Regions from separate parts of the Homo sapiens genome. Here regions 1 and 2 are each linked to region 3. Evidence: promoter capture Hi-C in human tissues and cell types (Jung and others, 2019). All regions are on one chromosome and are shown on one strand. Each heading gives the region's core, a stretch centred on a gene start or on the middle of the fragment in contact. The rest is flanking DNA. Distances are from core to core; before and after follow the strand shown. Region 1 overlaps LOC105369998 (a long non-coding RNA gene). Region 2 overlaps TBX5 (T-box transcription factor 5). Region 3 holds the start of TBX5 (T-box transcription factor 5).

The links. The method cuts DNA at HindIII sites, captures the fragments that hold promoters and counts their contacts. A contact is called where the count stands out against the background at its distance.
Region 1: a fragment that was not itself captured here is called in contact with the fragment with the promoter of TBX5 in region 3 in 2 of the 25 tissues and cell types used here (H1 embryonic stem cells and spleen).
Region 2: a fragment that was not itself captured here is called in contact with the fragment with the promoter of TBX5 in region 3 in 1 of the 25 tissues and cell types used here (H1 embryonic stem cells).

The regions. Positions count from the first base shown.
Region 1 is chr12:114,439,346-114,444,453 of GRCh38, reverse strand. All of the region lies in intron 1 of LOC105369998 (a long non-coding RNA gene), which reads left to right. Among named protein-coding and RNA genes, the nearest start is that of TBX5-AS1, 34 kb to the right of the region's middle. RefSeq lists enhancers at 494-997, 2,946-3,567, 3,568-4,190, 4,814-5,108. The HindIII fragment of the contact is 5,965 bases long and covers 1-5,108 here.
Region 2 is chr12:114,358,056-114,362,489 of GRCh38, reverse strand. The region is part of intron 8 of TBX5 (T-box transcription factor 5); the gene reads left to right. Among named protein-coding and RNA genes, the nearest start is that of TBX5, 46 kb to the left of the region's middle. The HindIII fragment of the contact is 3,921 bases long and covers 18-3,938 here.
Region 3 is chr12:114,404,464-114,408,863 of GRCh38, reverse strand. It overlaps TBX5 (T-box transcription factor 5), which reads left to right and starts at 2,720. Exons shown (of 9, transcript NM_181486.4): 1 at 2,720-3,236. TBX5-AS1 (TBX5 antisense RNA 1) reads right to left here and starts at 669. Exons shown (of 3, transcript NR_038440.1): 1 at 579-669; 2 at 1-36. RefSeq lists enhancers at 2,293-2,793, 2,832-3,518. The HindIII fragment of the contact is 27,288 bases long and covers 1-4,400 here.

The DNA.
Region 1 (5,108 bases), core at 922-3,421, 36 kb before region 3:
GGGTTGAAAGCCTGATTTCTGGGTTCATTCATTGATTTGATAAATATCCCATTAGTTTCAGGCTCGGTGCTGAGCTCTGGAGGCCCAGCTGTGACCAGGTTGGTCCTGTGCCCCGCGGAGCCCGACGATCAGCGGGAGAGACCGATGCTGAAACCTACAGTATTTCCTTTGATGCCAAATTCTTGCCCGCGCCGCTCCTTAATGCTTCTCTGGTCACAGCTGGGGCGCTGCAGGCTGCAGACAGACCCCTGTCCCCAGGAGGCATACAAACGTGGGGGTTAGGGGAGAACAGGCAAAGGCAGAAGCATTCTCCACCTAGGACGCCTCTGTGGCCGCCGCCGCGCGCCAGCCTGTGACCAGCGGCGCAGCTTCACCCAGGCTGCCGGCTGCCGCTGTCGCCCTTGCGGGGCACACGTCCAGCAAAACATTTCTAAATGTGTCTGGGCCCAATTCCGGAGTGTGAAGCAATCCCTCCGGCCCACGCTGCCGGCGGACCCTTTATGTAGTCGCGTTTCAGCCGCGCAGCGCTCATCAGCGCCACTTATGTCATCGTTTCTGGGTGCGCGCGGGCAAATTTGCTCCGCGCGCGCGCGCCCAGCGACCCCAGCGACCCTCCCCTCCCAGTGGCCTCCACTCTAGCCCTGCAGGGCCCCCAGGGATTTGCTCTGGGGGCTTGGCCAAGAAAAGTGGCCACCGGGACGGGCTGTTCTCTGCCTCCGTGAGTGTGGCCCAGGTGGAAATTCCAGTGAAAACTGAGCATTCTGAATTAAAACAAAACACAGCTAACTTAAACTAACCTAAACTCGTTTAGAGAGGTTTGAATTGGCTGCCTAATTACGGATTCCTCCATCATGAGTCTCTTGAATTACCTAGGCAAAACTGTCAATTATCCAAATGTTATACTGAATTTCCCAGAATTTCCTGGATTTGCCAGGTAGTCAACATCTGCTGTTATGGGGACAACCGTCCAGATTGTATTAGCACAGTGTTCTGCTCTCCAGCTGTGGCTGGATGCCTGCTCACTCTCCTGAATTTTTCTGATACAGTACTTCTGGATTTATTTTTCCCTGGCAAATTCCACAATGCTCCCAAGGTTGTGATGGAGAAGGGAGGGAGAGATGGGTGTGGTGATGAGAGTGGTGGTTACCTTGGCATCTTCTCTGAGCTTCTTGGGCTTCTGAGTATGTTCATGGCTGGAAGAAGAGCTTCAGAGGCAGCCCCACCAGGTTTCCCAAATTAGAGAATTAAAGCAATCTCTCTGGTCATCCACACACTAGATGTCTCAACTTTTCCCAAATTTCCAGATAATTAAGTGTATAAGGGAAATGAGAAGATGGGCCAAAATTTCCACATAATTTTCTAATTTTCTTTCATCTCCATTATGTCACGAGAAGTGTAAATACACCCCTTTTACCTTGAAAGGAGAAAGAAAGAAAGAAAGAGAAAGAAAGAAAGGCAAACAAAACAAATCTCCTGTATTTGTTTGAAACTCTCTTCCTGCATTTAGAGGCTGTGTGTTTGTGTCTGTGTTTGTGTTTGTGTGTGTTGAACCAAGGTCACTGGGCAGCAGAGGAACAGGGCTAGGGTTTGGGACAACCGTGTCAATGTTTTCTATTTAGGAAATGTCTGTTGGATCTCAATCCCAGTGGATCCCATTTTCCCCAGAAAGCACCAATTTCTAACACTTTTGTTTCTTCAGGCCCCTGCATCTTGTAATCTATGACAGACCTCAAGGATAGAGGCTGGTTCTACACTAACAAAGTCCAGTGAATCTGTCCACAAAGTCTCCCCCAACAACTTTGGTATGGGTGGGTGGTGGTGGTGGGAAATATGTGGCTGCCTGGGGCAGGAGTCCACATAATCCAGCTGGACTGGATCTTGATTCCTTTCCCTTCCCTTAATTTCACCAGTGTAGATCTCTGCCTAGAGACAGGGAAGTTTGAGAGAAGATCCAGAAGTCCCTGCTCTGGGAGTTCCTTAAAGGCTGTGGTTGGTTATGGTCTTCCAGTTGTTGGGGATATTTTTGAGGGCACAGAGACTCCTGACTTTTGCAGCTGGAGAGGGGATTAAACACATGTCCAAGCGTGTGCACACCCTCTTCCTCCTCCAGCAGCACACAAAGAGGAGGAAAGGTTGGAATATGTGAAGGATCAGTCCTCAGCCCTGTCATCAGGAAGGCAGCCTGCAGATCTCCAGCTAATTACAATGAGGTCCTGGACCATGATGCTGGTTCTAAAGACTTTAATTGGAGTTCAGGAACACCTCCCCACGGGAGGCAACATCCAGAGATTCTATTGCATCCCAAGGATGTGCCCAACTCCCAAACATTAAGAATATATCCTCATTAGAACCTGTTTCCCACTGGCGGTCCTCCATCAACTCTTCAACTCGAATTAAACTGGGGACACTTCGGAGCGGGTCTGGGTCTGGAAATGCAGCTTTCAGAATCAAGGGCTCTGGAGTCTGAATGCCGAAGCTGAACCTCTTCCCTCACTTGCTAAGTGATGTTGGGAAAGCAATTTAACCTCTCTGAACCTAGCTCTCATCTGTGAACCGTGATAACAGTACTCCCCTCTTAGGGTTGTTAGGAGGAGCCAATGAAGGAGGCAGGAGGAGGGAATGGCTGGATCAAGATTGTTCTGTAGTAGAACTGGAGGCCTGTCCATACTGGGTCCTCAGCCAACAGGTTGCAGCATGCACGCTGGTAGCGGCTCCTCTCAGCCAGATGGTGAGAATGTAATAAAATAAATATATATTGTTGGGCTATTCCAGAAACAGCAATGTGTGGCGTAGGAAAGCTTCGTGTCGAGCTATGTTGGTGGATGTCTGCTTTTCACTCCTAGGCCAGTCCTCAGGCTGTGGGTTCCAGTCCAAGCCCTGCCCCTTTCTTGCAGGGTGACTCTGTGTAAGTGCCTTCCCCTCTCTGGGCCTGGAGTAGGCAGTGCTGGAAATGACTCCTACCTGCAGGGTCATTGTGCGAATGAAATAAACGAGTAGGTGCGTGGCACGTGGTAGTGAGACTGAAAGATACAGTATCACAGCACGTCGTAACAAACACATAAGCACAGCCTAACACAATATACACATCCTAATGGGAGGTAAACGTGGTATAATATCCGATATTACGATGTGTTATATTGTATTATAATTCTAGGCGCACGTGAGCGTGCTGTAAGAGACAGACTGCGTTAGCCAGGACGTGCTTCGCCATTTTAGTGCCCGTGGGGGACGCAAGGTCTTACCGACTGGGGTTTTGAAGCGCGGGTGAGCGCTTGGCAAAACGCAACATCTTTCTCCCGGCAGCGCTGCTCAGTGCCCACTGCTCCCGTCCTGGGAAGATTCTTGCAGGTACCCGGGCACTGGGAAACCCTGGTAGGATCCGGCCGCTCTGTGGCGGCAGCTAGGAGCCCACATGGCACCGAGGAAATCGGGCGTCTGTGGCAATTCCCGACTGAGCGCGGCACAGCGCTGTGCAAACTGATGCAGCAACCTGAACGCGCCGTACCTCACCGAGCACGAAGCTTGGAGGAGGCCGGAGAACCCAGAACACCTAACCCACCCTTCCGCCTTCTGCTTTCCGTGCGGCGCAGGGAGCAGGCGGTTTCCGCAGGGAGAAGGCATGGCTGGAAGAAAAGCACTTTTTGTTTCTCCGCGCTGCTTCCCGGGATTTAGCCAGTGCCGCAGATGCGCGCGCTGACCAACCATCGAGACACGATTCTTTGGAGCCCTTTCTTCTAAAGGCATCGACACATCTACAGAATTGTTTTCAGCGGTGCAATCACTGACACACACACCAAATCCCTTGCACTCGGAACAATTTGCCCGTAGAATTACATGCACATAGAAGTACTTGAGAATTGCAAATCTGTCGGCTCGTGGGCATGGAATTATCTGCACATAGATAATCGTTTGCATATGTTGTTTGCATATGTCGTTTGCATATGTTGTTTGCCACGGATAATTTACGCGTAATTATCTGTAGACAGAAACGTCTTTGCGCACACACATTATTTGCAGGCGCGTTAGCGCGCAGACACTTCATTATATATATGAAAATTAAGGGCACACCCGCGGCTATGCGCTCCGGCACAGCCCGTGGCCCCCACCCGCAGGCGCAGACCTAAGGGTGTAACGATGAGCACTGGGTGTCTTATGTTTCCGGGAAAGTTCTAGAGTTGAAAGGAGAAAACTGTCTGGAGTCCGCGTTCTCTCTTTGTTGTTGGGGTTTGGGTGTTTGTTCTTGTTTTTTGTTTTTATTTTTTGACAGAGGTTGAATTCCCGACAGTTTTCCTGCTAGGAAAGACAGCGGGGACAAAGGCCAGAGGGTCACCCTGCTTGGAATCGAGGTCCGGGAGCAGTCCTTCGAGGGTTAAGGGCAGCGCCATGGGAACAATGAGTACAGAGATCGTGGCGCGGCCTCCTCGCCTCCCCTAGGCCGGAGAAGAGCCAGGTGGGGCCTGGAGGGACCCGCGGCCTGCGTTCAGAGGGCCGGGGGAGCTGTGTTTATTTTCTGGTTATTCTTGGCCGTCTTCCACGCGATTATTTGTAGCAGCTTAGGGAAGTTCAGGGAGAGCTGGGGCCTTAGGGGGTGAGGTGGGGGTTCCTCTGCCAGATCCCATGGATTTTATGGCATCGGAGCTCCAAGGGCAAATTACAGGCGGAATCAAAATGTGTAAATTCCAGTATAATATATAATAATATAATTATATATAAAATATATAATATAATGTAATGTGTAAATTACAGGTTAGTATCGTAAAGAATCCTAAGTCTGGCCGCTCAAGAAAGGCGAGTTGTGGGTTTCCAAGCTGACTCCCAGCCGGGCGCTCGCCAATGCGCCATGGGCGTCTGCGGGCTCAGTCCCCAGGCTTGGGAAGCCGGGGCGCCGGGGCGCTAAGAGGGAGAGCTGAGGCGCAGGCCCAGAGTTCTGTCCCAAAGCGGGTGGCCTCACCAGCAGGAAAGAAAGGGGGCCAGGTTGAGCACCCTGGCTTCGGAGGCTGACAAAAGACCGACAACCTGGAGCTGGAAGCATGGGAATTGGGAACGCTGCTTTTTCTCCCTGGGCCCCGCCGCTGTGGCGGCCTTTTAGCTCGGGCTCGCTAATTAGA
Region 2 (4,434 bases), core at 729-3,228, 46 kb after region 3:
TGCATGAAGCCCCTTGGCTGAGGGAGAGCCTGCCCCCTGGGGAGTGAACAGAAGGCTGAGATGTTGGCACTCAAGGCAAGGGCAAAGTGGTGGGGGATGAGGGCTAGAGGGGAAGGCAGGGACCAGTGAGATGCCAGCCTGTATAAGCCATTTTAATGAAAGATGTCAGATTTTATCCTACCACCAGTGCACGTCCATTGGAGGGATTTAAATTTGTGAGTAACATGCCTAAGTTCTTTATTTGGAAGCAGTCACTGTGCTATGATAGCACAGGACTATTTAGTTGGCACCAGAGACCCATTGAAAGGCTGTCATGGGGTCTGAAACAGGAGATGGTGGCTCCGACCAGGGTGTGGGGAGAAGCTGGAGATGTGGGTGGAATCAGGCCTTAGTGGCTGGTTGGCGATAACAAGGTGAAGAATTACCCCACTTCTTTGTGGATTTGGAAACCAACACTGAGGAACTTACCCAAAGTCACTCAGCTCGTGAGTGGCCCAGCTTGAGATGTATACTGAGGCCTGTGGGCTCAGGGTGAATGGGGTATGCACCCTGGAGAAATCCTTTCACCTTTCCAGAAACTCTGCCCTTCTCACCTCCCTCCACCCCCAAAAGGGAGCTCCCAGTGACAGGGAACATTCCAACCGAGGGCTCTCTGTCCTGCCTAGGAGACAACAAATAGCAATTCATCATCAGCCTCCACACTGTAAAGTGATAAGGAATCAGCCGAGGTTTCCTTCCAGTTGGGATTCTCATTAAGTGATAACTCCATGGGTGGTTTTCCCCCTGGCCCCTGCCTGCCCCACTATCTGACTTCCCCTCATTGTCTGTCTCCTTTCCAATGAGCCCAGGAGTCAGGCCCAATGAAATGTCACAGGGCCAGGCAGGCCGGAGGGCTCCTTGTGTTTGGAACCGGCTGTCTCCAAACTATCTCTCCCGATGGACTGAGCCAAAAAAGCTGGGAAGGTCTTTTATCAATGCCACTCAATCAAATCCAGGACCCCAGGGCCTGGGAGAGCACTTGTCTGTCTTTCTCCCTCTCACCCCTGACTCTCACCCCCACTCGCATTAGAAACTAAAAGCAACCCAAATAAAGATTCTAGCAAAGCCATGAGCTGAATCAGATATTCAAAGGAAAGTTAGAGATTGAGAGGGGAAGGGGAATTCGATATGGAAAAGGGCTTTGCAGGGTGCATTTTCTGAGTGCTATGTTTTAAAATGCGATTTCACATCCATTCCTTTGCTGATTCTCCAGTTCCCTGCAGCAGTCTTTGGACTAGGGGAGATGCCACCCATCTCTATTTTGCAGGGATCTAATGGAGGACCAAGAGACAGGGTTAGATTTTAAGCTTATGTGGCTGATGATTGGCAGATCTGGGATGGATGCATCAGATTAATCTTTATTTATTGAGCACTTAATGTATAATGGACACTGTGCTAGGTGCTTGGGATAAGTGGAGGACATGGTGGAAAAGGCTCCCGCTCTCAAGAAACTTGAATTCTTACTGGATGAGACATATAATAAGCCAGTAAGTAAATTTATTGGTTTCAGGTAGTGACTAGGTGATGTTTCAAACTGAGTCTTTTGATTTCTCGTTGAGAATCTTCGCACAATACCATTCCAACCCTTCCTACTTTATGCTAAGAGCATGGGGACACCAAAAACAAATAACAACAACAACAAAAACAACAACAACAAAAAGTCATCCACCCACTCATCCACCCACCCACCAATCCATCCACCCACCATTCACCCATCCACCCACCCATCCACCCACTCACTCATTCATCCATCCACCCATCCATCACTCATCTATCTATCCACTCACTCATCCATCCACCCACTCATCCATCTACCCACTCATCCATCCAGCCATCACCCCACCTATCCACTTATCCATCCACCCACTTATCCATCCCCCCACCCATCTATCAACCCATCCATCCACCTACCCAACCACTCACTCATCCATCAACCCACCCATCCATTCACCCATCTACCCACCCACCCATCCATGCATCCATCCACCCATCCAACCACCCATCCATCCACCCACTCATCCACCAATCCTCCCACTCATTCATTCATCCATCCATCCACCCACCCACCCACCCATACATCTATCCTCCCATCCATCCATCTACTCATCCACCCACTCATCCATAAGAGTCAAGGTTTGCTACCTTTTCATGTTGGCTGAGCATGTAGGGTTGCGTGAAATGGAAAGCCTGGGGCCATCTGTCAGAATGAGCACTGCTTTGTGAGTCAGAAGACCTGAATTATAGCCACCTTCCCAACTTGCTGAAGGTCACTCAGCTAGAAAGATTACTACTCTGAGTTTCAGGGTCTCTGTCTGGGAAGACTCGCCAATGGTTCTTCATCTGAATGAACTGAATTGGCAAGAGAAATGACCCATTTGGGAATAGTGAAAATATTTGCTCAATAGGATTAGTATTTAAAAGCACTCTGTGAGCTTTCCAGCTCTGTAATCTACCCAAATACTATTAAGTATGGGACAACTTTCAGAAAGCTATCTATCCAGTCTTCCAAAAGAGAAAGAGGGAAAAGAGAATGGACCCAGGTCATTTGGACAGACAAGATTTGAATGCTTTATGTGCAAGGAAGATAAAAACTCAACTGCCCTCATTATTACCTCAATTAAATCTCATAAAAAGTTCAGGTATTATCTCCATTTACAATCAAGAACTGAGATTGGAATGACCTGGTGATTCATCCAGTCACATGGCGAGCGAGCATTGGAGCTGTAACTCTGTGCCTTAATATCTGTGCCTTGGATGCATTACTAAATTCACTTTATCCGGAATCAAAAATATCTAGAAAAATCCAAAGTACTAGGGTTTTCTACAGTGCCATGCCATAATGAGTGGTCAGAATCAGGAAGAATTTACTGTTACCTAAGAGACTCATTTCGGTTTAGGATAGTTGCAATATAACTGACCACTCTTAATATGCAACTTTCTGAAGCCGAGTTGTGGACTCATCTCATCAGAAGACTTGATACTTAAGTATAGCCCATTTACCAACCCTGAAAGTTAATCATGACTTGGCTGGAGATAGGTCTTTGCTGTTGAACAGTTATTGGGCTCTCAAAGAAGAGAAAAAAGAAAGAAACTGAGCCATAACCAAAATAAACACAGAGATTACATCCAGAGCATTTATCATGACTGACCTGAAATTTGGATCCTTGAGTTGGAATTTCTTTACAATGTGATGAGGCCTGAGAGGAATTTGAGAATGTTCAGGACCTGCTTTCATCAATAAGCCAAGATTGAGTTTTTCTTAGTGCTCTGCATTAGATCTTTGGGGTATTAAAGACTGGAATGTATAATTTTACGATTTTCCAAAATGTGTTCCGGCCGTTTTCTTATTATTCTTCCTTTTTTACTTGTAACAAATCTGGAAGGGGATCAGAAACTTGAAAATAGTTAGTTTGCCTTGTTTTTTTTTCCTCTTGCTAAGGGTGCCCTGCAGCTGTACTTTCTATTATTGAAAAGGGTAACACCCTGGTTAATTGGAAAACCCAAAGGTTATGATTCCAGCAACAATGGAAACACTCAGGTTTATGAATCTGGGGGAAGGAAGGAAGAATTGAAGGAAAGGAATCAAGGGAGGAGGTGGTGAGGACAAAAAGAAGCTGAGTATAGCAATGTCTTCAAGCCTCCAAACAAACAAACAAACAAACAAACAAACAAAAAAAACCCCGCACAGTTAAAAGGTGAAAAATGTGGCCGTTCATTCATCTGGATGTTTTCAAACATCTGCATGGTTGGCATGATGTAGATAGAACACCTGGAAGAGTGTGTTTTTCTTTTTTTTTTATTTTTGGTACAAATTTTTTTGGTATCCTATAAGTCCCATATGTGGCCCAGAAAGAGTCTAGTGGAAATAAGTTTACTTGCTGTTAAGTGGGCACAACCCTAAGAGATATGTTTTGTTTGTGGATACTTTTGGCTTATCTGTGGGTGTCACTTGGACATTGATACAAATGGAGCTGATTGGTGGAATCCAAACCCAAGCTACTCTACCTGGGTTTGGGAGCTATTTTACAAACCAGTCCAAAGCCAAAGGATTTAGTCTTGAGTCAATGGCTTACTTGTGTCTTTATATCTGAGGACCACCTCTCAGTCACAGAGTGTCAGCCTCCCTCACTTACTGCTCATGGTAGGATAGACTGGGATTGAGGACATGCACCAAAAACGGGATCATGTTCACCACTCTATCTCCAGCACCTGGCACAATACCTAGCACTTTGGAGCAGCTCAGTAATTATCTGCTGTATGATTGCATGAGTGGCACTGGGTATTAGAAATCTAGAGAGTTGGAAGCAAGGTGTGTAGGCAAAGTCAATCCAATCTGGCTTAGATTCCAGCCTCTGTTCCTTCTCAGCCATGTGACCTTGGGCAAGTCACTTCTCT
Region 3 (4,400 bases), core at 1,471-3,970:
CACTGCGCTGCTTAGAAATTGTGCCCATTGATCAGACTAAAAATAATAGTCGTCGTGATTACAAAACAAAATAGAGTGCCTCGTGCCTCGGCGGGCCCTGGTACAATAATTATTCTCTACAGAAACCACCTCTCTCCACTCCCACCCCTACTCCACCACCCACTCGCACCCCGCCCCTGCCGGGCCACTCTGGGACGAATTGCATTCTTGGACCTTTCTCTCCGCAAGGCACATTACGGAGAACTCCCTCTGTCTCGTGTCCCCTCCACGACAACCCAGTAATTATTTCTATGCAAGTCTGCAAGAGGGCACTGAGTTATCGCATCCCAAGCCTAACCAGCTAGAGCGGCGCCTCGGTATTCATTTGCCCAGAGCTCCTCCGCGGGGGATTTAAAAATAATAATAATAATAATAAGGATCCCATGCCTTATGCAAGAGACCTCAGTCCCCCGGAACAACTCGATTTCCTTCCAATAGAGGTCTGAGGTGGACTCCCACCTCCCTTCGTGAAGAGTTCCCTCCTCTCCCCCTTCCTAAGAAAGTCGATCTTGGCTCTATTTGTGTCTTATGTTCATCACCCTCATTCCTCCGGAGAAAGCCGGGTTGGTTTATGTCTTTATTTATTCCCGGGGCCAAGACGTCCGGAACCTGTGGCTGCGCAGACCCGGCACTGATAGGCGAAGACGGAGAGAAATTTACCTCCCGCCGCTGCCCCCCAGCCAAACGTGACAGCGCGCGGGCCGGTTGCGTGACTCGTGACGTCTCCAAGTCCTATAGGTGCAGCGGCTGGTGAGATAGTCGCTATCGCCTGGTTGCCTCTTTATTTTACTGGGGTATGCCTGGTAATAAACAGTAATATTTAATTTGTCGGAGACCACAAACCAACCTTGAGCTGGGAGGTACGTGCTCTTCTTGACAGACGTTGGAAGAAGACCTGGCCTAAAGAGGTCTCTTTTGGTGGTCCTTTTCAAAGTCTTCACCTGAGCCCTGCTCTCCAGCGAGGCGCACTCCTGGCTTTTGCGCTCCAAAGAAGAGGTGGGATAGTTGGAGGTGAGTTTCACCCTGGAGGACTGAGGGGGGAAATAGGTTTCTCTTTGCACTTGGCCCTCCTTGGCTTTTCACCCCGTCTTAGTCTTGCTGAATCTTCTCTTGCTGTGCTGCTACTTCTCATGAACGAAATAAGAATGGCTTCGTGTGTCACCTGGCAAGAATGGATTCTCTCGAAAGGTTTGAAAATCCCTATTTTGCTTGGTGGCCCAGACCATCTGTGCTCAATGAGCTAAGCAAATCTGGCTGGGCTATTACCTGGGAGAGTCCAGATTTTTCCTCTCTGGAGGGGCCTGAAGATTATTTATGGGAATTAATTTTATCCCCAAATCTCTGAGAACTTAAAGGGATTGGGAAGGTCTTTCTGGATTTCCCTTTCCCTCTACTGGAGATGTAGCGGTTCAGCCTTCTTCCGATGCCATGTTTGTTTTTCGTGTCTTCGGCCTAGGGTCGCCTTGCCAGCAAGCCTAAAGGCCTCCAAGCTGACTTGGAGGGTGAGGGTGTTTTCACAAATAAATACATCGCCTGGGCAAAGGGAAAATATCTGTTTGCAAACAAACCTGGAAGGTGGAGTGAGCACCATAGCAAAGGAGGGCTGGCTTTCTCCCCGGTTGCCCCACATTCAGGGTTGGAGATTCTCCACTTTGGCATTTTGCAGCAATGGCCTGGCCTGGGATTTTAGCAGAGCAGTCACAGAGGGTTACACAGCTGCTGACCTCGGGGCATTTCTCCTCCCTCCATCCCTTTCTCCAGACCTTGACTTGCAGGCCCAAGTCTCTTATCAGAACCCTAGAAAAATCAGTATGATGGGGGTACAGGAGGTAAGGATGGGAAACAGAACAGGACTCCTGACATTTACTCCAAGCACCAATATTCGGTGTCCCAATCTGGGTCTGCTCAGACTGAGACCTACTGACTGTGTTTGTGCTTTTATTGACCTCTTCAACTCACCCTAAAAAAAAAAAATACATCTCAGAGAGGGAAAGGGCAAGGAGAGGAGACCAGTGGAGATGAAAACCCTAGCCAGTCCCCAGTGACTGTTTGATTATTTTAATAAAACTGGGCACTGCCTTGTGTACACCTGGAGCAGGGGACGTCTGGTGGCCCCACTGGGTGGGGGGTGAGGGCCCGCAGCGATTTCTTAGCATCTTTGATCTCGGCCCCCATCCCAATGCACCTTCACCCTGCCTTCACCCCAGAGTCGTTGAGAGTAGGGGTGATGAGTAGGGGGTGGAGGGGAGATGTCAGGAAGGCGAGCGCCGGCCAGGCGGGGTCAGGCAGCTCTCCTTCTCGAGGTCAGCGTTGGAGAGAATGTCTGCAAGGCTGCGGAGGCCCGCGGTGTGTTTGTGTGTGTGCGTCCAGACTCGGTTCTCTGCACCGCCAGCGTCACTGAGATTACTTCCCGATTAGAAGCCGACCGCGTTTGAAATGATTTGTGCAGGAGTTTTTGCAGCCACCGCTTGCTCAGAGAAGCAGAGATGGATGGAGGTTGGGAAAGGGGTAGAGAGGAGGGAGTTATTGCAGGTCTGTGTTGAGAGTCGTATTGTGATTTGAGTGTTCGGGAAATCTAGTGGAAATTTGGGGTGGGGGGAAGGGAGGACGGGAGGGTGGGAGGGAGAGAGAAGGGGGAGGGCGACAGAGTGCAGTGGGAGCTAGTTGGATAGGCGATTTCAGTACTTTGTGAGCATCGAGGCAACCCAACGTCACTGTGCTCAGCTGAGTTGGCTTGTATTTCAGAGAGAGAGAGAGAGGGAGAGAGAGTGAGAGAGACTGACTCTTACCTCGAATCCGGGAACTTTAATCCTGAAAGCTGCGCTCAGAAAGGACTTCGACCATTCACTGGGCTTCCAACTTTCCCTCCCTGGGGGTGTAAAGGAGGAGCGGGGCACTGAGATTATATGGTTGCCGGTGCTCTTGGAGGCTATTTTGTGTTCTTTGGCGCTTGCCAACTGGGAAGTATTTAGGGAGAGCAAGCGCACAGCAGAGGAGGTGTGTGTTGGAGGTGGGCAGTCGCCGCGGAGGCTCCAGCGGTAGGTGCGCCCTAGTAGGCAGCAGTAGCCGCTATTCTGGGTAAGCAGTAAACCCCGCATAAACCCCGGAGCCACCATGCCTGCTCCCCCGCCTCACCGCCGGCTTCCCTGCTAGGAGCAGCAGAGGATGTGGTGAATGCACCGGCTTCACCGAACGAGGTAACCGTCCCGGCAGATGGCCCGGGAGGCTCAGGAGGGAGCTCGTCGGCCGAGTCGGCTGGGGCGGCGGGAATGGCGGATTCCAGCCCGGCTTTGCATTCTGCAGAGCACAGCTTGCAGAGATTTTGCGCGGCTCGGAGCTCCCCGGCAAATGGAGTCTGGGAGGCCGCCGCGGCTGGCGGAGCGGCATTGAGGTTTGCAGAAGCACGGCCTGGTTCTGTCAAACCGCATCTTGTTCGCCTCCGCCAGCCCAGAGCTCCCCGGGACCCTGGCGAGGGCGCGGGGTAGGATTCTCCCCGCGGCCGGCAGTGAATGGGAGCGCGTGTAGGGGCGCCAGCCCTGCTTTCTTTTGTTGTGAGTAGGCAGCGGGGCTCCAGTCGCCGCCTCCCTGAAGCCCCGAGAACGAGGCGAAGAAAGCTGCTTGCAAGTCAGGCCTCAGAAGCTGTCCTTCTCCTCGGCCCCATTTCTAGATCTCTGGCCACAGCAGGTCAGGGTGGGATCTGGCCGCTTGCTTAAGCAGCTGCTGAGGTTTTGGGGGACCATCGCTTGTGCCCGCTTCCCAAAGTCTTCCCGTTCTAGGGGGAATTCCTACTTGCGTATAGAAGAGATTGGAAGGAGATCAGAGAGCAGGAGACAGGCTCATCGGGCTTGAACAGCTCTGCGGCAGTTATTTTGTGTGTTCTAAGCTCATACGCCTGCAAACCCGGGCCGTTCTATGCATTGCGGGGACCCGGGCTGCAGATTCAATGTCTCCAGCCTAGGACTTATCCGAGAATGATTTTGTCCTCGCCAATCCTGAGCCTGAGCCTGCAGTTTTAGCAGGCCAGGCCTGGCTGAAGTTCAGAGAAACCCCTTTCGGCCTGGTCACTCCACAAAATGCCCGCCATCCCCCGCCCGGCATCAGAGCGCTGGTGGCGGGCACCCAGTGACGAGCCTTCCTCGGAACGGCTGCACGGTGACTTTCTTCATCTAGTCTTCTGTTTGGCTACTTTTTATCTTTTAACGAATCTTACTTAAGGTTGGGATAAAGAAAAGGATGTTTAATTTTAAAGGACTTTTAATGTTAAGGCCTGTAACTGGTAAAAGGTGTATATGAATTCTCTTTTGAACCTAGTCTCAATCTGCACAACCTTCCCCTTCTGTGTTTTTCTTTTTGCAAGAGGC